Regions from separate parts of the Homo sapiens genome. Here all the other regions are linked to region 5. The links are contacts of gene promoters, found by promoter capture Hi-C in human tissues and cell types (Jung and others, 2019). All regions are on one chromosome and are shown on one strand. Each heading gives the region's core, a stretch centred on a gene start or on the middle of the fragment in contact. The rest is flanking DNA. Distances are from core to core; before and after follow the strand shown.

What was found. Contacts are between HindIII fragments. The study calls those that stand out against the background at their distance.
Region 1: the fragment with the promoter of GAMT here is called in contact with the fragment with the promoter of ADAT3 in region 5 in 1 of the 25 tissues and cell types used here (spleen).
Region 2: the fragment with the promoter of RPS15 here is called in contact with the fragment with the promoter of ADAT3 in region 5 in 1 of the 25 tissues and cell types used here (dorsolateral prefrontal cortex).
Region 3: a fragment that was not itself captured here is called in contact with the fragment with the promoter of ADAT3 in region 5 in 1 of the 25 tissues and cell types used here (dorsolateral prefrontal cortex).
Region 4: a fragment that was not itself captured here is called in contact with the fragment with the promoter of ADAT3 in region 5 in 1 of the 25 tissues and cell types used here (dorsolateral prefrontal cortex).
Region 6: the fragment with the promoter of AMH here is called in contact with the fragment with the promoter of ADAT3 in region 5 in 2 of the 25 tissues and cell types used here (dorsolateral prefrontal cortex and spleen).

What each region holds. Positions count from the first base shown.
Region 1 is chr19:1,400,283-1,404,292 of GRCh38, forward strand. GAMT (guanidinoacetate N-methyltransferase) reads right to left here and starts at 1,260. Exons shown (of 6, transcript NM_000156.6): 1 at 1,014-1,260. The coding sequence starts at 1,194. RefSeq lists a silencer at 998-1,577. The HindIII fragment of the contact is 15,848 bases long and covers 1-3,432 here.
Region 2 is chr19:1,435,613-1,439,645 of GRCh38, forward strand. RPS15 (ribosomal protein S15) reads left to right here and starts at 2,784. Exons shown (of 4, transcript NM_001018.5): 1 at 2,784-2,816; 2 at 3,195-3,280. The coding sequence starts at 2,814. DAZAP1 (DAZ associated protein 1) reads left to right here. Exons shown (of 12, transcript NM_018959.4): 12 at 1-72. RefSeq lists enhancers at 2,529-3,399, 2,808-3,027. The HindIII fragment of the contact is 20,902 bases long and covers 1-4,033 here.
Region 3 is chr19:1,604,678-1,608,712 of GRCh38, forward strand. UQCR11 (ubiquinol-cytochrome c reductase, complex III subunit XI) reads right to left here and starts at 785. Exons shown (of 3, transcript NM_006830.4): 1 at 683-785. The coding sequence starts at 732. RefSeq lists silencers at 536-605, 656-915 and enhancers at 976-1,285, 1,741-2,362, 3,845-3,894, 3,925-3,994. The HindIII fragment of the contact is 3,073 bases long and covers 1,145-4,035 here.
Region 4 is chr19:2,209,953-2,213,999 of GRCh38, forward strand. It overlaps DOT1L (DOT1 like histone lysine methyltransferase), which reads left to right. Exons shown (of 28, transcript NM_032482.3): 13 at 448-558; 14 at 669-903; 15 at 1,147-1,260; 16 at 1,799-1,890; 17 at 3,587-3,688; 18 at 3,897-4,034. It overlaps DOT1L-AS1 (DOT1L antisense RNA 1), which reads right to left. Exons shown (of 2, transcript XR_007067087.1): 2 at 2,076-4,047. Among named protein-coding and RNA genes, the nearest start is that of DOT1L-AS1, 3.6 kb to the right of the region's middle. The HindIII fragment of the contact is 3,245 bases long and covers 370-3,614 here.
Region 5 is chr19:1,903,283-1,907,498 of GRCh38, forward strand. ADAT3 (adenosine deaminase tRNA specific 3) reads left to right here and starts at 2,117. Exons shown (of 2, transcript NM_138422.4): 1 at 2,117-2,157. SCAMP4 (secretory carrier membrane protein 4) reads left to right here and starts at 2,117. Exons shown (of 7, transcript NM_079834.4): 1 at 2,117-2,157. RefSeq lists enhancers at 1,111-1,170, 1,451-1,510, 2,531-2,620 and silencers at 1,841-2,170, 2,221-2,370. The HindIII fragment of the contact is 31,876 bases long and covers 1-4,216 here.
Region 6 is chr19:2,246,324-2,250,572 of GRCh38, forward strand. AMH (anti-Mullerian hormone) reads left to right here and starts at 3,000. Exons shown (of 5, transcript NM_000479.5): 1 at 3,000-3,421; 2 at 4,014-4,156. The coding sequence starts at 3,010. SF3A2 (splicing factor 3a subunit 2) reads left to right here. Exons shown (of 9, transcript NM_007165.5): 6 at 430-479; 7 at 559-699; 8 at 1,271-1,339; 9 at 1,444-2,332. The coding sequence ends at 2,223. RefSeq lists promoters at 11-3,009, 944-2,978, 2,730-3,009, 2,800-3,009, 2,978-3,009 and enhancers at 11-1,088, 387-888, 2,943-3,082. The HindIII fragment of the contact is 11,600 bases long and covers 1-4,249 here.

The sequences.
Region 1 (4,010 bases), core at 10-2,509, 500 kb before region 5:
CAGGGCTGAGCTGGGGGTCTGCTTGGAGGAGGGGGTGCAGGGCTGAACTAGGCTATGTGAGTCACATTTGCCACAGGACGGGAGGGCACCCTGGGCCAGCATGGACAGAGGCGGGCGGAACACAGTAGTCCTGAGCGGGAACAGCGTGGGCCCTGGCCAGCGGCCAGAGAGAGGATGACCAGCCAGGGAGGCCGAAGACGGCCGCTTTTGGGGCCAGGCCTGTGGGGAGGCGAGAGCCTTGGACTTTGAGCCCAGCCCACGCTGTTTGTCCCGGGTCCCTTATCTCTCGGGTTAGTTACTTTTCTCTCCCCCTCCCTCTATCCGAAAGTTGGATTTGCAAGAGTGGCCAGGCAAGACCTGGACTTGAGACTATCTGGGAGGGGAAGGACTGGTCCCCAGTGGGCCACACATGGGCCCCCCGCTCAATCCTGATTGGCACTGGACACTGGACGTGCCCATTTTCAGGGTGGGAACACTGAGGCCCGACCCCTGGACGGGGCCTGTGTGGGGCCAGGGAGTCCTTTCTTAGCAGCCCTTAGCGTCTGACGCCAGGCAGGCCAGGGCCACCCCGGGGACAGCTGTCTCCCTGAGCTCAGCTTTCCGAGTGCTATTCTTAGCCGGGCGAGTCGGGGCTGCTCTCCCAGGCAGGCAGAAGGGCAGCCTCTCCCTGGCACGACCCCTTCCTCCCGACCTCAGACAGGGAGCTGGGGACCCGGTTCCACCCAGTTTCACCCAGGTCTCACGTTTGAGGTCCCCATCTGGAGAGCGGGGGGCCTCACTCCCCCTGGAGAGGAAGTTTCTGGTACTTAGGCGGTGCCTAACGTGTGCGGGCCCCACGCCTGCCGCACTCCCCGTGAACGCCTCCGTGTGCCCCCACCTGCAGCCCCACTTCCCAGGCGAGGAGACAGAGGCGCCCCGGCGGGAGGGTGGGCTGCAGAGTCCCCGGGTCGGGGCAGCCCCGGCCTCAGTTTCCCCTGCGCCCCCGGGGGCGGTGCAGGCCGGGCGGGGGCTACCTTTGGAGGAGGCGGCGGCGGCCAGCGCGTGCATATAGGGGGTCTCCCAGCGCTCCATCACCGGCTTGCCCAGGATGCGCAGGTGCGTGTCCGCTGCGTCGTAGGCCGCGGGCGCCGCCCCCCACGCGGGGCTGCAGTTCTCGCCGGGCGCGAAGATGGGGGTCGCGCTGGGGGCGCTCATGCTGCAGGCTGGACGGCGACCCGACCTCGATCGCGCGCCGCCCGGGCCCGCTCCCTGCAGGGGCTTGTGGGCCGGGGGCGGGTCCAACAGGCCCGGGGGGCGGACCCGCGAGAGGACGCGCGCGCGCGGCTCCGGGAGCGGCCTCTAGCGGCGGCCACGCGAGAGGTGGCGGGAGTGGGGTCGGGGCCCCGGCCGCCCCCTCCCCAAGGAGCCTCGGTGCCCCCTCTGCGGAGCGGGCACCGCAGCCCCGCGCCCGGGGACGCGAACCTGCAGGCTGGGGACTGGAATCCCCGCCTTGCCGCTTACGCGCCATAGATTCCTCATCTGTCAGCACCGCAGAAAGGCCCCCTCCTCGCTGGGGTGTGAGAATCTGAGGATCTTCCAGGCGCTGTTGGAAGTGCTTTAAGTGTTTAAAATCATTTAATCTTCAGAAGATGCTACAGTGAGTTCTGTCTTTTTTTAATAGAGACGGGGTCTTGCTATGTTGCCCAGGTTGGTCTCAAACTCCTGGGCGCAAGCGATCCTCCCGCTTCAGCCTCCCAAAGTGTTGGGATTACAGGCGTGAGCCACCGCGCCCGCCAGGTTCTATGATGACTGTCGTTTTTCCTTCCTTCCTTCCTTCCTTTCTTTTTTGAAAGCAAGTTTATTAAGGAATAAAAATGAATGGCTACTCCATAGAGCAGCCGACTGTCATTTTACAGATGTGGAAACTGAGGCTTTGAGAAGCAAAGCCGGTGGTCTGGTGGCCACGAGGGTGGGGACCCAGCATTAGAGCTCTGATGCCCCCCTTTCATGAGCCCATGTCACACCCCCATAGGCTGGGGGTCATCTGAGACCCCGGGTCCCTAATGGGGGATTCCGCCCAAAGACGCCTCCAGTTCTGGAGACCAGGACTCAATCCCAGCAGTGCCCTTTCCTCCGGCGGCCCTGCAGCTGGGGTGTGCGGGGGTGGAATTAGGCCTCCCCCAGCCCAGGGTAGCCCCTTAGGGTCAAGCACACCCCCCGCCTGTTTCCTGGGGGCCCCCAAGCCCGCTGCGGTGGCGTCCTGGCTCTGATAGCCGGTTTCCTTCCCCCTCTGAACGTGGGGCCACAGTCATGAGCCCTGAGCACTGCCTGCCTGCCTGCCTGCCTGCCTGCCGTGCGTTCTGCACGGGTTAACAGATGCAGTTATTATGCCCATTTAACACGAGGGAAACTGAGGCCCAGAGAGGTTGAGGTTCACAGGTTGCAGCAGGGCCACGGTGTGAACGCAGGCAGCCTCGGAAACAGCTCCCGCGCGCGGCCTTCCCTGCGCCACCTTGTCTGGGTAGCTGCCTGCCCCATCACTGCCTGCTCAACGCCTCCACATGCCCCTGCCACCTCTTGCACAGCTCCTTAGCCCCGGGCCTTGGCACACGCTCTTCCCCTTGCCCAGACAGCCTCTCTCCTGGTCAGGCCGCTTTCTCGTTCTGTCTCAAGCTGAGCCCACGTGTCCTCTAGGAGACACCCCCATTCTGCCCCAGGACAGGCATGTCCTGGTCAGAAGCTGTTTTGTTTGTTTTTGTTTTTCTGAGACAGAGTCTCACTCTGTTGCTCAGGTTGGAGTGCAGTGGCATGATTTTGGCTCAGTGCAACCTCTGCCTCCCGGGTTCAAGCGATTCTCCTACCTCAGCCTCCTGGGTAGCTGTGATGACAGGCGCCCGCCACCAAGCCCGGCTAATTTTTTTTTTTTTTTTTTTTTTTTGTATTTTTAGTAGAAACGGGGTTTCACCATGTTAGCCAGGATGGTCTTGATCTCCTGACCTCGTGATTCACCCGCCTCGGCCTCCTAAAGTGCTGGGATTGCAAGGTGTGAGCCACCGCACCCACCCGGCCAGAAGCTGTTTTCTCTCTCTTTGGTAGTTCACTAACGGAAGGTATTTCTTCATGGTCCTAGCGTCCCTCTCACAGGGCTGTCAGTGATCCTGGCACACAGAACATGCTTGATAGGCTGGGTGCAGCAGCTCCCACCTGTGATCCCAGTGCCTGGGGGAGGTGCAGGGGCTCAGGCCTGTGATCCCACCACTTTGGGATGCCGAGGTAGAAGGATTGCTTCAGTGCAAGAGTTAAGACCAGCTTAGACCACACACAGAGACCTTGTCTCTACAAAAAAAAAAAAGTTTTAAAAATTAGCCAGGGCCGGGCGCGGTGGCTCACGCGTGTAATCCCAGCACTTTGGGAGGCTGAGGTGGGCGGATCCCCTGAGACCAGCCTGGCAACACGGTGAAACCCCATGTCTACAAAAATACAAAAATAGCTGGGCGTGGTGGTGGGTGCCTGTAATCCCAGCTACTCAGGAGGCTGAGGCAGGAGAATCGCTTGAACCCGGGAGGCGGAGGTTGCAGAGAACATCACTCTCAGTGAAATAAGCCAGTCGCAACAGGACAAATCCTATGTGAGTCCACTCCTAGGAGGTCCCTGGAGTCCTCCGATCCACAGAGACAGAACGTAGGATGGCGGGGGGGGGGGGTGCCAGGGGCTGGGGAGGGGACAGGGAGTGAGTATTTCACGGGGCAGAGTTTCAGTTTGGGAAGATGAGAAGGTTCTGGAGAGGACGGCGGTGATGGTTGCACAACAATGGGAATGCGCTTAATGCCAATGAGCTGTGCACCTACAAATAATTAAAATGGGGCCGGGCGTGGCGGCTCACGCCTGTCATCCCAGCACTTTGGGAGGCCAAGGCGGGCAGATCACCTGAGGTCAGGAGTTCGAGACCAGCCTCAACATGGAGAAACCCCGTCTCTACTAAAAATACAAAATTAGCCGGGCGTGGTGGTGCGTGCCTGTAGTCCCGGCTA
Region 2 (4,033 bases), core at 1,534-4,033, 470 kb before region 5:
TGGCTTCAGGGCGTTTCCCATTGACCAGTTTGACCCTGGTTTGAATAAAGAGAAGTGCGTTTGGATTAGAAACCACTTTGTGTCCGTTTTTTCCCTCCTTGGTCTTGGCCTGTGCCTACCCTTCCAGTGCCTAGGAAAGGTCTGAAACGCGACGGAGGCGCCCTCGCCCTCCCCTTGGCTCTTGGTGGTCTCAGCAACCCCGAGGGCTTCAGGGCAGAGGCTGAGTGGCGAGCTGGGCCCATCCCTCAGTGGGTCTTGGGATGCTGTGACTTTGAGGATGTGGCCACCACCAGTTTTCTCGGGGAATGTGGGCTCCAGGCTTTTCCCATCTCAAGACCTTTAATCATATCTTTTGCCATGGAAGGTGACATATCCCCAGGTTCTGGGGATTAGGACAGGGGCATCTTTGGAAAGGGATACTCTGTCACTGTGGCAGGGAAGGCGAGACTTAAAAAGGGCCGGGCGCGGTGGCTCACGACTGTAATCCCAGCACTTTGGGAGGCCGAGGCGGGCGGATCACCTGAGGTCGGGAGTTCGAGACCAGCCTGACCAACATGGAGAAACCCCGTCTCTACTAAAAATACAAAAATTAACCGGGTGTGGTGGTGCATGCCTGTAATCCCAGCTACTTGGGAGGCTGAGGCAGAAGAATCGCTTGAACCTGGGAGGCGGAGCTTGCAGTGAGCCGAGATTGCGCCATTGCACTCCAGCCTGGGCAACAAGAGCGAAACTCCGTCTCAAAAAACAAAACAAGAAAAAAAAAGGACCATGAAGTCCCAAACTGGAAGCCTACAGCGTGCCAGGCGTGAGACTGTTCAGGCGACAGCCAGAACCACCCCCCCCCGCCCCAGTTCATATTTTGGGGACAGGGAAGGTTTGACTTAGTTTGGAGAGAACCAAGAGAAGGGGTACCCCCAACATCCCTGTGCAGTGCAGTTTCCTCACTGAGACAGTACCCCTCAACGCCTCAGCCCAGGAAGCCAGCTCCATTCCCTGCCGTCAGAGCCTTCTCCCATGTCCTCAGGAGCTGCTGCCCCAGCTCCCAGGAGGGCCAGGCGGGGGCGGCTGTCTATCCACACCACAGGTCATCATGGTGTTGAGTGTCAGCCCCTCCCGTTACATTAGCTCCCCCAGCCAAAGAGCAGCACTCACAAAATCAGCTTTCCAGCCAGGACACTCTGCTGCAGGAAAATGGGTAACATGGACGGGCCCGACACATAGGTCCTGTGCTCCTCGGGACGGAGACTCAGCCCTCCCTGAGTACAGTGTAATTGGCTTCCCTTGGGACTGTGGGGACGGCTGGGGAGAGCTCAGCTCCCTGGACAGTGCCACAGCTAAGCTCGGGTTCCCAGAGGTTTTGTGCTTTTTTTTTTTCTTTTTCTTTTTTTTTTTTTTTTTTTTTTTTGAGAAGGAGTCTCTGTCGCCCAGGCTGGAGTGCAGTGGTGCGATCTCAGCTCACTGCAACCTCCGCCTCCCGGGTTCAAGCGGTTCTCCTGCCTCAGCCTCCCAAGGAGCTGGGATTACAGGCACCCACCACCACGCCTGGCTAATTTTTTGTATTTTTAGTAGAGTTAGGGTTGGTCAGCTTGGTCTTGAACTCTTGACCTCAGGTGATCCGCCCGCCTCGGCCTCCCAAAGTGCTGGAATTACAAGCATAAGCCACCACGCCCAGCCAGGTGCCACATCCATAGTTAATAGTCACCTTCAACTTTATACTTAATTCCAGTAAGATACAGAAACATCACTCCTAGGCCAGGCGCGGTGGCTCACGCCTGTAATCCCAGCACTTTGGGAGGCCAAAGCGGGTGGATCACCTGAGGTCAGGAGTTCGAGACCAACATGGCCTGGCCAACATGGAGAAACCGTGTCTTTACTAAAAATACAAAATTAGCCGGGCACGGTAACAGGTGCCTGTAATCCCAGCTACTTGGGAGGCTGAGGCAGGAGAATCGCTTGAACCCAGGAGGCAGAGGTTGCAGTGAGCCGAGATCACACCACTGCACTCCAGCCAGGGCAACAAGAGTGAAACTCTGTCTCAAAAAAAAAAAAAAGTCACTCCTACATAGTTCTAGTTACTCCTTCTCTTTGAGCTATCATTATTCACATTACATTTACATATCTTAACAAACCCAGTGATATTCCTAACTTTATTTTTGAGGCAGGGTCTTGCTCTGTCGCCCAGGCTGGAGTGCCGTTGGCGCGATCACGGCTCACTGCAGCCTTGACCTCCTGGGCTGAAGGCTCAGCCTCCCGAGTAGCTGGGAATTTTTTGTACTTTTTATTCTTTTATGTCCGTGTGTACACAAATTTTTGTATTTTTTTGTAGAGAGGCAGTCTCACTGTGTTGTCCTTACTAACTTTATATACAAAATTTTATCTGTTAAAGCCGGAATGGTTCTTTTCAGCGAGGCCCTGTCCCTGCTCCAGTATCTGTAATGAATTCTCGTGTTCCTCCCACAGTGGGACCTGAACCGCCAAACCGCACCTACGAGCAAACGGTAGGCGCTCCATAAATACTTGTTGATGTGGGTGCCATCGTGTAGATGACGGAGCACGAACCCGAGGCTCAGACAGGGGCGGCGACTTGTCCAAAGTCCCACTCCGTGGAGGAAGCGGCTCTGCAGACCTCAGGCGGCGGCTGCTCTAATCCCTGCAGCCTGTGTTTTGCCCTCCAGACGGCAGAGGGCGCGTGTTCGCCGCCGGGAAAGCGGAAGCGCGTGTGCGCGCACGGCCGAGGGGGCGGGACATGCCGGCAGTCTCGCGATAACTGCGCAGGCGCGGACCAAAGCGATCTCTTCTGAGGATCCGGCAAGATGGTGAGTGTTGCGATTTGGCGCGTCTCTGCCGGGCCTATCCGGCTCCATCCAACCTCTGACCGTCTCGCGGGGGCCGCAGTTCGTCCCCGCGGCTACGGCGGCTTGCTCCCGACCCTGCAGGCGGCTGGATGTTGGGGCGAGGGGCGGACTTGGTGGGTGTCGGGACGACGCGGGGCTGGGAAGGCCTGTCCGGGCCTTCATGTCCGGGTCCTCGTAACCCGGAGCCGCGAGTGATCCCCGGGGACGGGTCGAAGCGGTGTGTCCCTGTCGGGCTTCTGTCCCCGGCGGCGCCGCGCGTCTTCCGCGGTGTCCTCGGGCCCGGTGGCCCCGGGAGATGGGTGTCGGGATCCCGCTGACGCCCGATCCGCGCCCGCACAGGCAGAAGTAGAGCAGAAGAAGAAGCGGACCTTCCGCAAGTTCACCTACCGCGGCGTGGACCTCGACCAGCTGCTGGACATGTCCTAGTAAGGGCGGCCGCGGGGGTCGCGGGCAGGGGCTGGGCCAGCGGTGGGGCTTGTCCGGGTGAGGGCGGCGGGGCGGGGGTCCAAGCGCCTCTGCGGCGGTGGGCGGGCACGGTCTCCGCGCGGGTTTGGAACTGAGTGTGGTCTTGCGCCCAGAAAACTGTCCAGAGACGTTGAGGTTTTTGCTTATTTGCAACCTGCCCCCCGTTGTTCACTTTTCCGCGGCTTAGTTGGAAGGTGTAGCCCCTGTCTGTAGCCCACGTGACTTAGAATAAGGGGCTGCGTTAGACTCCTTAGATTTTAAGGGCGGTGGAGGTCGCTGGGTCCTTTCCAGGCAGGGTGGTGGTGGGCATCTGGCTTGCGCTTTTATTTTTTAATTTTTGATTATTTTGAGGCGGAGTCTCATCCTGTCGCCCAGGCTGGAGTGCAATGGCTCCGTCCCAGCTCACTGCAGCCTCCCACTCCCGGGTTCAAGCGATTCTCTTGCCTCAGCCTCTCGAGTAGCTGGGATTAGAGGGCCCCCCCACCACGTCCGGCTAATTTTTGTATTTTTAGTAGAGACGAGTTTCAGTGTTGCCCAGGCTGGTCTCAAACTCCTGACCTCAGGTGATCCACCTGCCTCGGCCTCCCAAAGTGCTGGGATTACAGGCGTGAACACCGCGCCCGACCTTGATTTTTGATTATTTGTGGAAACAGCGTTTCTCTGTGTCGTCCAGGTTGGTCTTGAACTCCTGGGCTCAAGCGACCCTCCCGCCT
Region 3 (4,035 bases), core at 1,431-3,930, 300 kb before region 5:
CCACCACGCCTGGCTAATTTTTGCATTTTTAGTAGAGACGCGGGTTTCACCACGTTGGCCAGGCTGGTCTCGAACTCCTGACCTCAGGTGATCCACCTGCCTCGGCCTCACAAAGCGCTGGGATCACAGGCGGGAGCCACCGCACCCAGCCAGGCCTTGCTTCTTAGCACCCCACGTGGAAACACCAGACAACCCTACGGAGGCCACCCCCAGCCCGGCTTCTATGGGGGCCACCCCTATGCCGTCCCGCTGCCCACGTGGGCTCAGGCGCAGCTGAAGCTTTCACGCTCCTTGTTAAAAATCATAAAAACCAAAATAGTGGCAAAGGCCGAAGATGCCGCGAGTGCTGGGCTGGGGATCGGGACTCGGCACCTTCTGGGCGCTTCCGTCCAGGGGGTCACCATTCGGATCCCCCGGTAGAGATGGGGAAACTGAGGCTTGGAGCGGCCTAGCCGCGGAGCCGGGCATGCTGGGGTTTGGCCTTGGGTCCGTCACGTCCCGTTCACGCCGGGACGCGCCGCTCCGCCTCTCGGCCTCAGTTTCCCCCTCTGTCACCGGGAACAACAAGGGACCTGGGCCCGGCCCGGCCCGGCCCCCGGAAACGCGCACAAATACGGAACGCAGCGGCGCGGGGCTGGGCCGAGGCGGGAGCGCGGATGGGGCCGCGGGTCGGCGTCCTCACCAGTTCTTGACCAGCTCCCGGTAGCGTGGGCCCAGGAACCGGGTCACCATCGCGGCGGAGTCGCACCCTCAGGATGACCCTGTCCAGCTGACCCGGCTACACTGCGCAGGCGCGGCCGCGGCGCGCACGCGCGCGGGGAGGGCGGGGGGGGGGGGAGGAAAAAAAAACATCATCCGCCACTGTGCGCGCAGACCCGGAAGCCACTTACAGTAACTTCCGGCGAGGGTTGGACGACCGCGGAGAAGTGGTCCGGAGTGGGCGGCGTTAGGGCGGTGCTTTCTGGCCACGTGGTCTGGCGGCCGATTGTGCTTCTGGGCTCCGCGGGGCTACCTGCCAGTGATTTTGTGCGCCTAGTATGTGCCAGAACGTTATTTACAATGAAGGAAACTGAGGTCCAGCGGGGAAGGGTCTTGCTCAGAGTCACACAGAGGGGAAGAGCTGGGATTGGAGCCCACTTTTGGAGGCGTCAGGCGTTGTTCCTGATTCGCTGTAGGACTTTGGTCGAGCGGCAGTGCTTCCCTGAGCCTCAGCGTTGCCCGTTGCTTGGAGGCCCTGTCGGAAATCTCTTTGCAGGATTCCGTTTGCGAGCCTGGGTTATTCCTCATTCCGGCAGCAGAGGGTGGCCTGGCTCCTTGCTCGGTGAACGTCTCTGGATGCTCTTAGCTGATGACAGGCAGGTCTTTCTGCCTCCTGCTTTCCACCGCACCAGGCTCGCTTGGGCTCGCCTTTCTCCAGTCCCTGCTTCCTCTGCTCTCCCACAACCCGGCGCAGCACCGTACATGCTCACTCAGCTCCCAGCTTCCAGCCTCCCCCCTGCACACCGGGCCGGTGTGGGCAGAAGGAAGAGGGGCATATTCCCAGACACCGCCATTGCACTTTTGTGCCTTTTCCCCCATATTCAAGAGTTGCCTCCCTCAGGAAGCCCTCCTGGACTGCCTGACCCACAGGCACCTTTACAGCATGAACGGAAAGGCCATAGCCTAGACGGGGCACTGGGCGTGATTTGTCTCTCGGGCGCCAGCGTCACTTGCAGGCCTCGTGATAAGGAATGGACACCGTGGGTTCTTCTGCCCAGCCTGGCCTGTCCTCCTGGGGTCAGCCCCTCAGTACACCCCAAGCCTGCAGCTCTCTGGGGACTGCGGGTGCTAACCCATCCCTATCCCTGGTTAAGGACTCAGGGTGGGAGCCGGAAATAGGTTTTGGACACCACAGTCTGGGCACTGTTTTTCTTTCTTTTTTTTTTTGAGACGGAGTCTCGCTCTGTGGCCCAGGCTGGAGTGCAATGACACGATCTCGGCTCACTGCAACCTCCGCTTCCCGGGTTCAAGCTTCTCCTGCCTCAGCCTCCCAAGTAGCTGGGACTACAGGCGTGAGCCACCACACCTGGCTAGTTTTTGTATTTTTAGTAGAGATGGGGTTTGGCCATGTTGGCCAGGCTTGTCTTGAATTCCTGACCTCAAGTGATCCGCCTCCCAAAATGCTGGGATTACAGGTGTAAGCCACCGGGCCCGGCCCTGGGCATTGTTTGTAGAACTTTCCAGTTGGCTTGGGGTTTTTGAGCTTGGGATCAGAGAGCACCTGAATAAGACTCTTCCCATTGGTGGAAACTTAAAAAAGTGGGATGCAGGGGCTGACACAGAGACTATTAAGAGAAAGGACAGGAACACAAGGGCTGCTGGAATGTCAGCCCAGAGTTTCCAGATGCCACAATGTAAGAGTTCACCAGTGGCCGGGCACGGTGGCTCACGCCTATAATCCCAGCACTTTGGGAGGTTGAGGCGGGCAGATCACCTGAGACTGGGAGTTCGAGACCAGCGTGACCAACATGGAGAAACCCCATCTCTACTAAAAATACAAAATTAACCGGACATGGTGACGGATGCCTGTAATTCCAGCTACTCGGGAGGCTGAGGCAGGAAAATTGCTTGAAAACCCGGGAGGCAGAGGTTGCGGTGAGCCGAGATCACGCCATTGCACTGCAGCCTGGGCAACAAGAGTGAAACTCCGTCTCAAAACAAACAGACAAAAAAAAGAGTTCATCAGAGACAGTGACATAAACAAGAGCTGAGAGATGGAGAGAGATTTGTAATGACACCTGGATCCAGCTGTGCCTGAAGCCATTCAACATGACATAGAACTTCCTTTTTGTTTCTTGAGCCGGTTTTTGTTATTTTGTTGGACCATCTGGATGTCCCCTCCACCCTTTTTTTTTGAAACGGAGTCTTGCTGTCGCCCAGGCTGCAGGCTGGAGTGTAGTGGTATGATCTTGGCTCACTGCAAGCTCCGCCTCCCAGGTTCACGCCATTCTCCTGCCTCAGCCTACCGAGTAGCTGGGACTACAGGTGCCCGCCACCACGCCTGGCTAATTTTTTGTATTTTTAGTAGAGATGGGGTTTCACCGTTAGCCAGGATGGTCTCGATCTCCTGACCTCGTGATCCGCCCGCCTTGGCCTCCCAAAGTGCTGGGATTACAGGCATGAGCCACTGCACCTGGCCCACCCTTTTTTTTTGACAGGTTCTGGCTCTGTTGCCCAGGCTGGAGTGCAGTGGTGCAATCACAGTTCACTGCCACCTCAAGCGATCCTCCCACCTGAACCTCCTAAGTAGCTGGGACTACAAGTGTGTGTCACCAGGTACAACCAATTTAATTTTGATTTTTTGAGACAGTCTCGCTCTGTCGCCCAGGCTAGAGTGCAGTGGTGCAATCTCAGCTCACTGCAATCCCTGCCTCCTGGGTTCAAGCTATTCTCCTGCCTCAGCCTCCCAAATAGCTGGGATTACAGGCTTGCGCCACCATGCCCGGCTAATTTTTGTATTTTTAGTAGAGATGGGATTTCGCCATGTTGGCCAGGCCGGTCTCGAACTCCTGACCTCAAGTGATCCACCCGCCACAGCCTCCCAAAGTGCTGGGATGACAGGCGTTAGCCACCGCGCCCGGCCAATGTATATTTTAAAAGTTGTTTTCCAGCATGAATTTAGAGGCCAGCTGGGTAGAGTGGTGGACAGGGCTCCCTCAGCACCTTCTGTCAACTCCTGGCCACTCTCTTTCCCTTAAAAATTATAGACATGGGGTCTCACTATGTTGCCCAGGCTGGACTGGAACTCCTGGCCTCAGGCGATCCTCCCGCCTCAGCCACCTGAAGTGCTGGGATTACAGATATGAGTCACTGTGCTGAGCCTTCTCCTCCCTAAGGCACTTGTGTGCCAAAGGGCTCTCTCCTGGGGGCCACCCCCCGTCAAGTGGCCAGGAAGGCACTCCTTCCACCCCAACCCTGTAGGGGAGCAGGGCAGTCCAGCTGTGTCCTCGCAGAGATGCAGCGGCCAAGTCCCTGGGCACAGCAGCAGATGCCTGC
Region 4 (4,047 bases), core at 742-3,241, 310 kb after region 5:
GCCCTCCACTAACTCACATCAGAGAACTTGTGCATGGCGTCCCATGTGTGGGCCTCGGTGCCTTTCGAAGAGAGGAGAGAGGGCAGGGGAGGCTGTGGGCTGTGGCTTCTAGGTCCTGCTGCCTGAGGGGCTTCTCGTCTCCTGTCTTGGATGTGGTTCTTTTTCTCTGTGGCTCACAGTCTGGCTTCTTACTGACAGGCATCTGTGATTGTGGGAGTGGCTGTGAATGCCGTTATCCGTGCCCACGGGTCACGTCCTGGCCTGCGGGGCCCCAAGCAGCCCACTGCTGTCTCTGGGCCTCAGTTTCCTGATTTGTGCCACAGAGGACTTGCAGTGGACAGAGTTGGGCCCGTGGCCCCCTTGAGTCTGAGCTCCGCGTGCCTCTCGGTGCAGGAGGGCCGTGGGCAGCGCTGGGGCTTCCTGTGGCTCAACCTGCTCTCCTTCCAGGAGGAACAGGAGGCAGCCCGGCGCCGCCAGCAGCGCGAGAGCAAGAGCAACGCGGCCACGCCCACTAAGGGCCCAGAGGGCAAGGTGGCCGGCCCCGCCGACGCCCCCATGGTAAGGCCCCAGCCTGGCTCCTGCTGCTGGAGGGCACCCGCCCCCTGCCCGGGAGACCCCATGGGTGGGAGGCTCTGTGCCCATCCCTGTTCTTCCCTTGTGTCCTCCAGGACTCTGGTGCTGAGGAAGAGAAGGCGGGAGCAGCCACCGTGAAGAAGCCGTCTCCCTCCAAAGCCCGCAAGAAGAAGCTAAACAAGAAGGGGAGGAAGATGGCTGGCCGCAAGCGCGGGCGCCCCAAGAAGATGAACACTGCGAACCCCGAGCGGAAGCCCAAGAAGAACCAAACTGCACTGGATGCCCTGCACGCTCAGACCGTGTCTCAGACGGCGGCCTCCTCACCCCAGGGTGAGCCGCCCCCACGCCACGGCCCCCGCTCTCCCCGAGTGCGGATGCCTGGGGTCCCCTCTGCTGGGACGCTGCCCTCCTGAGCCCCGTGTGTTCAGGGTGTCCCTGGAGCCTCCCTGTTGTGGCTGTGCCTTCAGGGTGGCCCCATCCTAAGGGGTTGCTGGGCACCTGCCCCATGCTGACGCCTCTGCCCACCGCTCTCCCGACCCGCCCTGTGCTGACGCCTGCCCTCCGCTCTCCCAGATGCCTACAGATCCCCTCACAGCCCGTTCTACCAGCTACCTCCGAGCGTGCAGCGGCACTCCCCCAACCCGCTGCTGGTGGCGCCCACCCCGCCCGCGCTGCAGAAGCTTCTAGGTGAGCCCGTGTGAGGCGTCCGGCGAAGGGTTCTGGGCTTGGGGTCATCCCAGGAGGACCGTGGGTTGTGACGCTGACCTCGCAGCAGCCCCCGTGACCTCCATGCTGGACCCCACTGAAGTTTACCCAGGGTTGGGGTCTGCCTGCTGCAGGGGTCAGTAGAGGCTCAGATGCAGCCTGTGGGTTGTCTGAGGTCTTACCCAGGAGATGCTGGGTGACACTTGGGACGTCTGCAGTTGTCATAACTTAGGGATGTTGCTGGCATGGGGTGGGTGCAGGCCAGGGATGCTGCTCAGGGCCTTGCAGTGCCCAGGATGGCCCCACGCGGTGAACACTTGGCTGCGCAGGGGTCAGAGGGCCTGAGTGCTCTGCGAGCTTGGGGCGTGTGGCATGGGCCCCGCCAGGCTCTGCTGAGCTCCTGCCTCATGAGTGCCTGACACCTGCCGAGGCCTGGGACTCGTTCTCAAGGGCTGCTCCCACCTCTTCCCTCTCAGTCTCAGCTGCTCTCTTCTCACCTGTGTTCCGCCTCTCTTCCCAGAGTCCTTCAAGATCCAGTACCTGCAGTTCCTGGCATACACAAAGACCCCCCAGTACAAGGCCAGCCTGCAGGAGCTGCTGGGCCAGGAGAAGGTGGGTCCTGGCCCCCTTGGCATTCCGCCTTCCCGCACAGAGGCAGTTCGTTCCTGTTCCTGGGCATCTGTCCCCTGTGGCAGAGGCCCTGGAGCGCAGGCCTGAGTGGGCTCCCTCCTCTGCTCACCTGCTGCGAGAAACAAACCTACCCGTTTAAACCCAAAGAATGGACTGAGAGACCCGGAAAACAGCGAAAATGAGACTTTTAATCATGGTTTTGCAAGACCTGGTGTCTGATAGGCACACCCAGCACAGTTTGAACAAGCAACCTTCCCCCTAGTGCACAGGTCCCTCCCCCGGTTCCTCAAAGGCTGAGTACTGTGAGGTCACAGTCTTCCCAGTTGTCGCCTATTGGTTCGGCAGGGGCTGGAGTGCAGTGGTGTGATCTCGGCTCACTGCAAACTCCGCCTCCCGGGTTCACGCCATTCTCCTGCCTCAGCCTCCCAAGTAGCTGGGACTACAGGCACCCACCACCACATCCGGCTAATTTTTTGTATTTTTAGTAGAGACGGGGTCTCACTGTGTTGGCCAGGATGGTCTTGATCTCCTAATCTCGTGATCCTCCCGCCTCGGACTCCCAAAGTGCTGGGATTACAGGCATGAGCCACCACGCCCGGTTGTAGGTGTTTTCTTTAGGGTTGTCCTGCTGCATTTTGTGCATTGCAATCCCAGTCAGCTCAGGGACTGTTCAAGTATTTGACTTATGATCTAAGTAGCTGGGCAGGCTGATTAAGAACAGACAAAGCCAGCTCTTTTGCAGGCTGGTAAACCTTCATCTTAGGCTAAACTTCTTTGGTTCGGGTGAGGGCAACTAAGCCGGGGGAAGCGGGGGCAGGGGAGGCTGACAAGCAGGCATCAGCGATCCAAGCAGGGGCCTAGTACATGCTGTCTCTTCTGTAGTTTGCTGACCTAAGCCAATTCAAGGCAGTTTGTCCTGGAAATGGACCACTGTATACATGATTTCCTTCACCTGAGGTCCCGGCTGTGGGGCCCCGCCCTGGGAGTCTCCGAGGACCTGCTTTAGTGGGGAGCTAGGGCCGGGCTATGGGGTGGAAGTTCTGGCGGCCCAGAGATAACTCCAAAAGCCATTGGAGCCACAAGGTCGGCTGTCCCTGAGCCCTGGTTTGCATTTTGGACTTTGGCTTTGCTTTTAAAAAAAAGCTTACAGCGTGCTTTGAGCATATATGCACATGCATTGCTCACTGTGTAGCTGACAGCATGCCTGGGCCGGGGCCCTGTTCTCTGCTGGTGTCTGAAGGTTGTCCTGTGTCAGTGGCTCCTGGGGTCTTCCCTTGGAGGTGGGCCTCCGGACACTGAGTGTTTGCTGTTACGCTGCAGAAGGCTTCCTTGCAGATCCATGTGAAAAGTCCATCCCCTGGTATTGCCTTGGGATAAACTCCTTGGCATTGGCCGGCCTCTGCGTGGCTGGGGGCGCTGCCCTGGCTGAGTCCAGGTGGGGTGGCAGGTGCAGTCCCTCCAGCTGGCGAGAGTTCTTTGCAGTGAACCTGATGCAGAGCTGGTCCCCTCCCGCCGTGGCCTGAGTATTTCTTGACATCTCAGCCCGGTGTGGGTCCCCTCAGGCATGTCTGTCCTTGAGCGTGTCTTCAGGAAGCATGAGAGGCAGGGCGTGGGCCCTCCCTGTGGGCCCTCAGTCACCTGCCCTGGCCCTTAGTCACCTGCCCTGTTTGTCCTACAGGAGAAGAACGCCCAGCTCCTGGGTGCGGCTCAGCAGCTCCTCAGCCACTGCCAGGCCCAGAAGGAGGAGATCAGGAGGCTGTTTCAGCAAAAATTGGATGAGGTAGTGGACCCCAGAGGGCAGGTGGCAGGTGGCAGCTGGGGCGCAGGCTGGGGTGGTCCATGTCCGTCGGTATGGCTTCCTGTGGCTTCCTGTCTATGCCTCTGTCCAGCTGTGTCCCAGGGGCTGGGCTGCAGGGGTGGTCATGCCTGGGGGCTTACTTCACCTTGGAGGCCACCAGCATGACCTCTCCCCCGCCCCATGTCCCCAGCTGGGTGTGAAGGCGCTGACCTACAACGACCTGATTCAAGCGCAGAAGGAGATCTCCGCCCATAACCAGCAGCTGCGGGAGCAGTCGGAGCAGCTGGAGCAGGACAACCGCGCGCTCCGCGGCCAGAGCTTGCAGCTGGTGGGTGCCGCGG
Region 5 (4,216 bases), core at 867-3,366:
ACCATGCCTGGCCTAGATTCATTTTTTTAGATGCAGAGAATCTGGGCTTTGGATTTAATGACTTACCAAATAAAGGCTGTCTTTTTTTTTTTTAAAACAAATCAGCAAAACAGGGGCTCTTGGCTAGTTTGCATGAGGCATCCAGGGATGGAGAGATGTGTATTTAAGCTAAAAAAAGAAAAAGTGAAACTCACAGCAGTCTGAGTTTTTATTCAGAAAAGGAAAAAAGAAAGCAACTGAGAGCGAAATAGTTTCCTGGAATGCTGTTTTTTTTTTTTTTTTTTTTTTTTTTTTTTTTTGAGATGGAGTCTCACTCTGTCGCCCAGGCAACAGAGTGCAATGGTGCGATCTCAGCTCATCGCAACCTTCGTCTCCCGGGTTCAAGTGATTCTCCTGCCTCAGCCTTCCCAGCAGCTGGGATTAAAGGCCCCTGCCACCATGCCTGGCTAATTTTTGTATTTTTAGTGGAGATGGGGTTTCGCCATGTTGGCCAGGCTGGTCTCGAACCCCTGACCTCAGGTGATCCACCCACCTTGGCCTCTCAAAGTGCTGGGAGTACAGGCATGAGCCACCGCATCCGACCTTGAAATGCACTTTCTTTGAAACACGTCCTCCCCTTTCTCACCATAAACTCCCTCACACTCTGCAGGTTTACCTAACTGTATGCATCTAATTATGTGATTACCTAAAAGTTCCAGGAACAGGCTGGGCACGGTGGCTCACGCCTGTAATCTCAGCACTTTGGGAGGCCGAGGCGGGCAGATCACCTGAAGTCAGGAGTTTGAGACCAGCCTGACCAACATGGAGAAACCCCATCTCTATTAAAAATACAAAATTAGCCAGGTGTGGTGGCGTGTGCCTGTAATCCCAGCTACTCGGGAGGCTGAGGCAGGAGAATCACTTGAATCTGGGAGGTGGAGGTTGCGGTGAGCTGAGATCGTGCTGCTGCACTCCAGCCTCGGTGACAAGAGCGAGACTGTCTCGAAAAAAAAGAAAAAAGAAAGAACGTTTTAGAGCTAATCTGGAGACAGGCCAAGCACGGAGACCCACCTGCAAAATCCCAGAGATTTCCTCAAGGTGGTCTGCAACCCGGCCCTTATTAGGATGAGGCCAGCCTGCGCTTTTAAGCCACCAAAATTCATGAACACACAGAGCTTATAATCAGCACCTCCCCTGCACACCCACCATTCCCAGTTCCCCTTTTTTAGCCCCTCACCCCAGCCTCAAGTTTGAAGGGGTTTCTGGAGGCCTAAACCAGCTGCCTCCCTGCTGCGAACTCTGAAAGGAAGTCACCTTCCTTTCACTGCACTTTTTCCTCCTTACTGGTTTGTCAAGACTCTGGCATCGGAGCCTGAGCTGGTTACAGCCAGGCACTGTCAAGCTGTTGGGGGAGGGGATGACAAATTCCCTCCCGTTGAGAACCACTTGGTTAAACCTGTCCAACTGGAAGGAGTAACAAATTGCTCATAAAATATGCATGTTTTGGTGAAACCCCTTCTCTACTAAAAGTACAAAAACTAGCCAGAAATCGCTTGAACCCAGGAGGTGGAGGTTGCAGTGAGCCTAGCACTGCACTCCAGCCTGGGTGACAGACTGAGGCTACGTCTCAAAAAAAAAAAAAAAAATGTGCTTGTTTGGCCCAGGAGAGGCAAGAGGTCTTCTTCACCTACGTTACTGGTGAGAAAACTCAAACCTGAGGGCGGCCCACGCCGGAGTGCAGTAACAGGCAGAACTGGAACCTGGCCCCATCCCGGACTCAGGGGACGGGTGTCATATACCCCCTCTGCCTCATCCTTCCCACTCTGCTAACCTTCCAAAGATCCCCCGGGTTCCGAGTTTTCCCTGGCCGCTTGATGGGATTCGAACCTGCAAACTCAGCGCTCGCCCAGCGCAGCGGCCCCGCCTCTCCTCCCCTCCCGCCGCCCGGAGGTCATGTGAGCGCAGTGCCGGAGCGGGGCGGGGCGAGGCGGCGGCGCGCAGTGCCTACTAGCAATTGTAGTCCTTGCCCCACCTTGGCCTGGCGAAGATCCCGCCCCTGGAACTACGCTCCCGTCGTGCTCCGCGGCTCCAGGCGGAGACGAGGCGGGGTGAGGTGGGTTGGGCCGGGCCGGTTGCTAAGACTTGGCGAAGCGCTGCGCTCGCGCCCGGATCCCTCAGGTAAGCGCGCGGCCCCGAGGTCTCGGGTTCTCCAGGCTCAGACTTCCCCAGAGGGGGAGTAGGGGCTGACATGGGGGGTCTCGGCGGTGAGGGGCGCCGGCCGTTTGTGGGGAGAAAACGGGGGGCCCAGGCCAGCCTCGCGCGCGTCTCGGGCGGGCCGGTGGGCGACGCGGGGAGGCGGCGCGAATGCGCGTGCGCGCGCGCGCGCGGCGCTGGCCTGGGGGAAGCCTCAGGACCGCGCTCCCCCGGGCCTAGCGCCTTTCTGCGCGTGTGCGCCCTTATGGTCGGTGCGGGAGACCCCGTATCCTCCAGCTGCTTCCGGTGGCCCTTCCTCAGGTCATGTCCCGCAGTCCCCTGCCTCTGAACCGCGCTCTCGCGAGTTTCCGTAGCCTTCGCGTCCTTCCTCCCCAGCTCTGATTCGCCTTTATGTGGAGATTCCCCTAGGCCTTGGTACATCCCCAGAATTGACCATCGTTCCTCATCGTTACCTAGAGTATGAGTTTTTCAGGTTTTTGTATCACAGGCCCCCAGTTATCTCCCACACACTACCCCGAGGACCGAGGTTCCCCGCTGTCTTGCAGAGAAGGCCTCCTTGTAGGGTGGCCAGAAACAGAGGATCGACTCCGTGGAAACAAGGACGGCTGGGTGCAGTTCCTCACCCTATAACCCCAGCACTTTGGGAGGCCAAGGCGAGTGGATCACCTGAGGTCCGGAGTTCGAGACCAGCCTGTCTAACATGGTGAAACTCCATCTCTGCCAAAAATACAAAAATTAGCTGGGCGTGGTGTCACGCGCCTGTAAAACCAGCTACTGGGGAGGCCAAGGCAGGAGAATCGCTTGGACTTGGGAGGTGGAGGTTGCAGTGAGCCAAGATGGCACCATTGTACTCCAGGCTGAGCAAGCTAGCAAGACTCACTCTCCAAAAAAAAGAAAAAAAGATTTTTTTTTAATAAGCCAGGCATGGTGACACATGTCTGTGGTCCCAGCTACTTGGGAGGCTGAGGCAGGAGGATTGCTTGAGCCCCGGAGGTTGAGGCTGCAGTGAACTGTGATGGCACTACTGCATTCCAGCCTGGGCAACAGAGCGAGACCCTGTCTCTAAATAAATAAATAAAATACATACGTGTAGCGCCGGCCGTGGTGGCTCACGCCTGTAATCCTAGCACTTTGGGAGGCCAAGGCGGGTGGATCACGAGATCAGGAGATCAAGACCATCCTGGCTAACACGGTGAAACCCTGTCTCTACTAAAAATAAAAAAAAGCCAGGCATGGTGGTGGACGCCTGTGGTCCCGGCTACTCCCAAAGGAGGCTGAGGCAGGAAAATGGTGTGAACTCAGGAGGCAGAGCTTGCAGTGAGCCAGGATCGTGCCACTGCACTCCAGCCTGGGCGACAGAGTGAGACTCCGTCTCAAAAAAAAAAAAAAATTGTGTGTGTGTGTGTGTGTGTGTAAAGAAACAAGCCCCAGGCTGGGCGCAGTGGCTCACGCCTGTAATCCCAGCACTTTGGGGGGCCTAGGCAGGTATATCACAAGGTCAGGAGTTCGAGAGCAGCCTGACCAATATGGTGAAATCCCACCTCTACTAAAAATATAAAAAATTAGCCAGGCATAGTGGTGCACATCTGTTGTCCCAGCTGCTTGGGAGGCTAAGGCAGGAGAATTGCTTGAACCAGGGAGGCAGAGGTTGCAGTGAGCCAGGATCGCGCCACTGCCCTCCAGCCTGGGGGACAGAGTGAGACTGTCCCAAAAAAAAAAAAGCCCCCACGCAGACTATTGGTGTGCCCTGGAACTGAGCATTAGCTGTTCCCTCTCCGAGTTCTCTCCCCTACTTCCCCAGCCTTCCAGGCTGGGCTGTGGGTCACTGCCTCCGAGGAGCCCTCCTGGATTCTGCTGAAGATGGTCAGGCCCCTCCATCCCCCCATTTTCTCTTATGTACCTGACAGCCCTGCCTTAAAAAAAAAAAAAAGGTAGAGCAGGAATTCCCATTTCACAGGGGTGGAAGCCGAGGCTTGGAGGAGTCAGGACTGGTGCCTGAGTTCTCGCAGTCAGGAATTGACCG
Region 6 (4,249 bases), core at 1,750-4,249, 340 kb after region 5:
CCAGGCTGCTGAGCTCTGGCGGGAAGGGCATCCTCTCTCGCTCACCGTATACATGGTGTCAGCCCTGTTCAGGCGGCCCCGCTCGAATCCCAGAGCCAGGGTGCCGAGGGCCCCTCCCTACCCAGTGGCCCCAACTCCTGCTGGGTGGTATCCCAGCACCCCTGGTGAAGGGCTCTGGGGATTGGGACAAAGGAGCACCATCCTCGGTCCCTGCCTGAGTGACTCCGCAGGTAGCTCAGCTCTGGCGCACCTGTGCCTTCACCTATACCAGAATCCCAGAGCCTGGGCGGAGATTGTCTAATGGTTGCCAGAGCTGCAGGGCCTCCCCCGGGGTCCCGCTCTCGTTCAGTGGGTGGCATTAGCCTGCCCCAGGTTCCTCAGCTTCGGAGAGGACAAGCAGCCGGGACCTGAGAGCTTTCTGTGTTGCAGTGACCAAGCAGAGAGACTCGGAGATGGGCCAGCAGAGCCTCCTCTTCCAGGTGAGATCAGGGACTTGGGCGTGGGGGGCGGCCAAAGGCACCCAAGAGGCGGCTCTGCCACCCGGCCGTGTCCCTGCAGATTGACTACCCTGAGATCGCCGAGGGCATCATGCCACGTCACCGCTTCATGTCTGCGTACGAGCAGAGGATCGAGCCTCCGGACCGGCGCTGGCAGTACCTGCTCATGGCCGCCGAGCCCTACGAGACCATTGCCTTCAAGGTAGCGTGGCTGCGGGGTTCCCTGGGCCCCCTTGAGATGTGCAAGCCAGAAGGATCTGCATAGGCTGGGCAGGATGCCCCTCCCATCGGGCTTGGGGTCCCCTGGGCCCCCCCCAAGTCGGAGCCAGAAGGGTCTGCACAGGCCGGGCAGGGCACCTCTCCCATTGGGCTCTGCAGGAGGGCCTGCTTGGGCTCCACTGGGCCAATGAGAAGGGAGGCCGGCAGGGCTGAGCGCCAGGCCTGTGAGGCCTTTGCCAAGTGACCTCACTTCCTGGGCCAGGCTGCTGGAGGGCTTCCTACAGCCTGTCCCCATGCCTGGACAGGGCGGCCATCAGGAAACAAATAATACAAACGGTGACTGCCCAGGGAGGGGGCCAACAGCGTGCTAGCATTGAGGCCAGGTCTGTTTCACTCCAGAACTGAACCCTGTGCCCCACGAAAGTCTTACCAGCCTTCTCCTGGGCTCCCAGGGTAGAGTCCGGGCTGGGGAGGCTAGTGCCTCGGGCTCCCTGCCTGATGGTCGCCCTGAGGTCACAGGGACCAGGAGCCCTCTCTGTCCCCCGCCCTCCCAGGTGCCGAGCAGAGAGATCGACAAGGCGGAGGGCAAGTTCTGGACACACTGGAACCGGGAGACCAAGCAGGTGAGTGGCTCGCCCCGAGCCTGGCTCCTTCCCACCCAGCCCTGGCGGCCCTAGCCCTGCCCTAGCCCCACCCGTGCCTGCTGAACCTTTCTCCGTCTCTCTAGTTCTTCCTCCAGTTCCACTTTAAGATGGAGAAGCCCCCGGCTCCACCCAGCCTCCCTGCTGGCCCCCCTGGGGTGAAGCGGCCTCCACCCCCGCTGATGAACGGTCTGCCCCCTCGGCCACCGCTGCCTGAGTCTTTGCCACCGCCCCCGCCAGGAGGCCTGCCTCTGCCACCCATGCCCCCCACAGGGCCTGCGCCCTCAGGGCCCCCGGGACCACCCCAGCTACCCCCGCCAGCTCCAGGGGTCCACCCCCCGGCCCCAGTGGTGCATCCCCCTGCATCTGGGGTCCATCCCCCAGCTCCTGGCGTCCACCCCCCAGCTCCTGGCGTCCATCCCCCAGCCCCTGGGGTCCACCCACCAACCTCTGGGGTCCACCCCCCAGCTCCTGGAGTCCACCCTCCAGCCCCCGGGGTTCACCCACCAGCCCCCGGAGTCCACCCACCAGCCCCTGGGGTTCACCCACCAGCCCCAGGGGTCCATCCTCCCCCATCAGCGGGGGTTCACCCCCAGGCCCCGGGGGTGCACCCAGCAGCCCCCGCCGTTCACCCTCAGGCCCCAGGGGTGCACCCACCAGCCCCAGGGATGCACCCTCAGGCCCCGGGGGTCCACCCCCAACCTCCCGGGGTCCATCCGTCGGCTCCTGGGGTCCACCCTCAGCCTCCGGGAGTTCACCCCTCAAATCCTGGGGTGCACCCCCCAACTCCCATGCCCCCAATGCTGAGGCCCCCACTTCCCTCCGAAGGCCCAGGGAACATACCTCCCCCTCCCCCAACCAACTGAGAAGCTGCTCCCTCCCCCAGCAAGCCCAGCGCCAGGTGCTCTTGCCTTTTCCCACTGAGAGAAGGCTGCTCTTTTGTACTGCCCCCCGCTCATTAAACAGCCTCCCCCAGCCCTGAGTGCACTGATGTCCGCAGCGCCGCCCTACTGTGTCAGTGTGTGTGGGAGTGCCAGGCACAGCACCATCCCCCAGTTTGGGCCGACTGGGGAGGGCCTGGGGCCCGCCAGGAGACACCTGTGGGAGGCCTGAGAGATGGCTGTACCTTGGAGATGGCCTGGTGGAGGACAGACCCCACCAGCCAGCTAGGAGGGGATCTGGGGTCCTGTTCTGGGGAGGGAAGAGCAGACTCCACGATATCCTTGGGGTCTCCAGATAGCCCACCAGGGGTGGGGAGGGTGAGCAGGGACAGGGCGCCCCCACTGACTTGGGACCCTCCTCCTCCAGGCCCACACCTCAGCACCCAGGACATCTGGGCCCCCCGCCCCCAGCGCTGTCTAGTTTGGTTGCCTGGCCGTCACTCCCAGCCTGGTTCCCACTCCTGTGTCTTCTGGGGATGGCCCTCAAGGACGGCATGTTGACACATCAGGCCCAGCTCTATCACTGGGGAGGGAGATAGGCTGCCAGGGACAGAAAGGGCTCTTTGAGAAGGCCACTCTGCCTGGAGTGGGGGCGCCGGGCACTGTCCCCCAAGGTCGCGGCAGAGGAGATAGGGGTCTGTCCTGCACAAACACCCCACCTTCCACTCGGCTCACTTAAGGCAGGCAGCCCAGCCCCTGGCAGCACCCACGATGCGGGACCTGCCTCTCACCAGCCTGGCCCTAGTGCTGTCTGCCCTGGGGGCTCTGCTGGGGACTGAGGCCCTCAGAGCAGAGGAGCCAGCTGTGGGCACCAGTGGCCTCATCTTCCGAGAAGACTTGGACTGGCCTCCAGGCAGCCCACAAGAGCCTCTGTGCCTGGTGGCACTGGGCGGGGACAGCAATGGCAGCAGCTCCCCCCTGCGGGTGGTGGGGGCTCTAAGCGCCTATGAGCAGGCCTTCCTGGGGGCCGTGCAGAGGGCCCGCTGGGGCCCCCGAGACCTGGCCACCTTCGGGGTCTGCAACACCGGTGACAGGCAGGCTGCCTTGCCCTCTCTACGGCGGCTGGGGGCCTGGCTGCGGGACCCTGGGGGGCAGCGCCTGGTGGTCCTACACCTGGAGGAAGGTATGTGGGGCCCAGCCCCAAGCTTGGCACCGCCGTCTTCCTTCAGGTGGGCCGGGTCCTCCTAGGGAAGATCAGGGGCTGGCAGAGCCCCCACCCTGGGCAGGGAGGCTGTGGTCTTGTTCCTAGGACTGGGTTGCGGGTCCGTGGCCTGGAAGGTGGGCACCACACTCTGTCCTGTCCCCGAAGCCCAGCTCTTAGACTTGCCCCTGCCTCGGTGCCAGGGAGAGAGCTGCTGCCTTCTCCCCACCCCTGAAGACGACGCAGGGCTCGGGGCCAGTGGAACCCTTCTTCCCACAGCCCCAGCCTGTTCTCAGGGCCGCTGGCCTAAGATACTCCCTGCGGGGAAGGGGCTTCATCGGGCACCCCAACCCAGAGACCCCAGGGCGGCAGCCCCACCCACAGCCTCAGACGCAGCCCCTGCCTGCCCCTGCCGTCACCGCTCCCTGGCTGCAGGAAGGCAGCTAAGAGGGGCACCCTTGTCCCCCGCTTGAGGTCCCCTGCACAGTGGCCAGAGCGGCAGGGACAGATCCCAAAGATTCCCGGGGGGTGTGGCCTTCAATGGCTCAGGCGTCCCCTGCTGTCCCGGCTGCAGTGACCTGGGAGCCAACACCCTCGCTGAGGTTCCAGGAGCCCCCGCCTGGAGGAGCTGGCCCCCCAGAGCTGGCGCTGCTGGTGCTGTACCCTGGGCCTGGCCCTGAGGTCACTGTGACGAGGGCTGGGCTGCCGGGTGCCCAGGTACCAGGGAGTTGCATGGGGCAGTGCCCGGGCCGTGGCGGGGGGCATGGATTTGTTGCAGGGTCTGCAGTACTGAGAACAGCGTAGAACCAG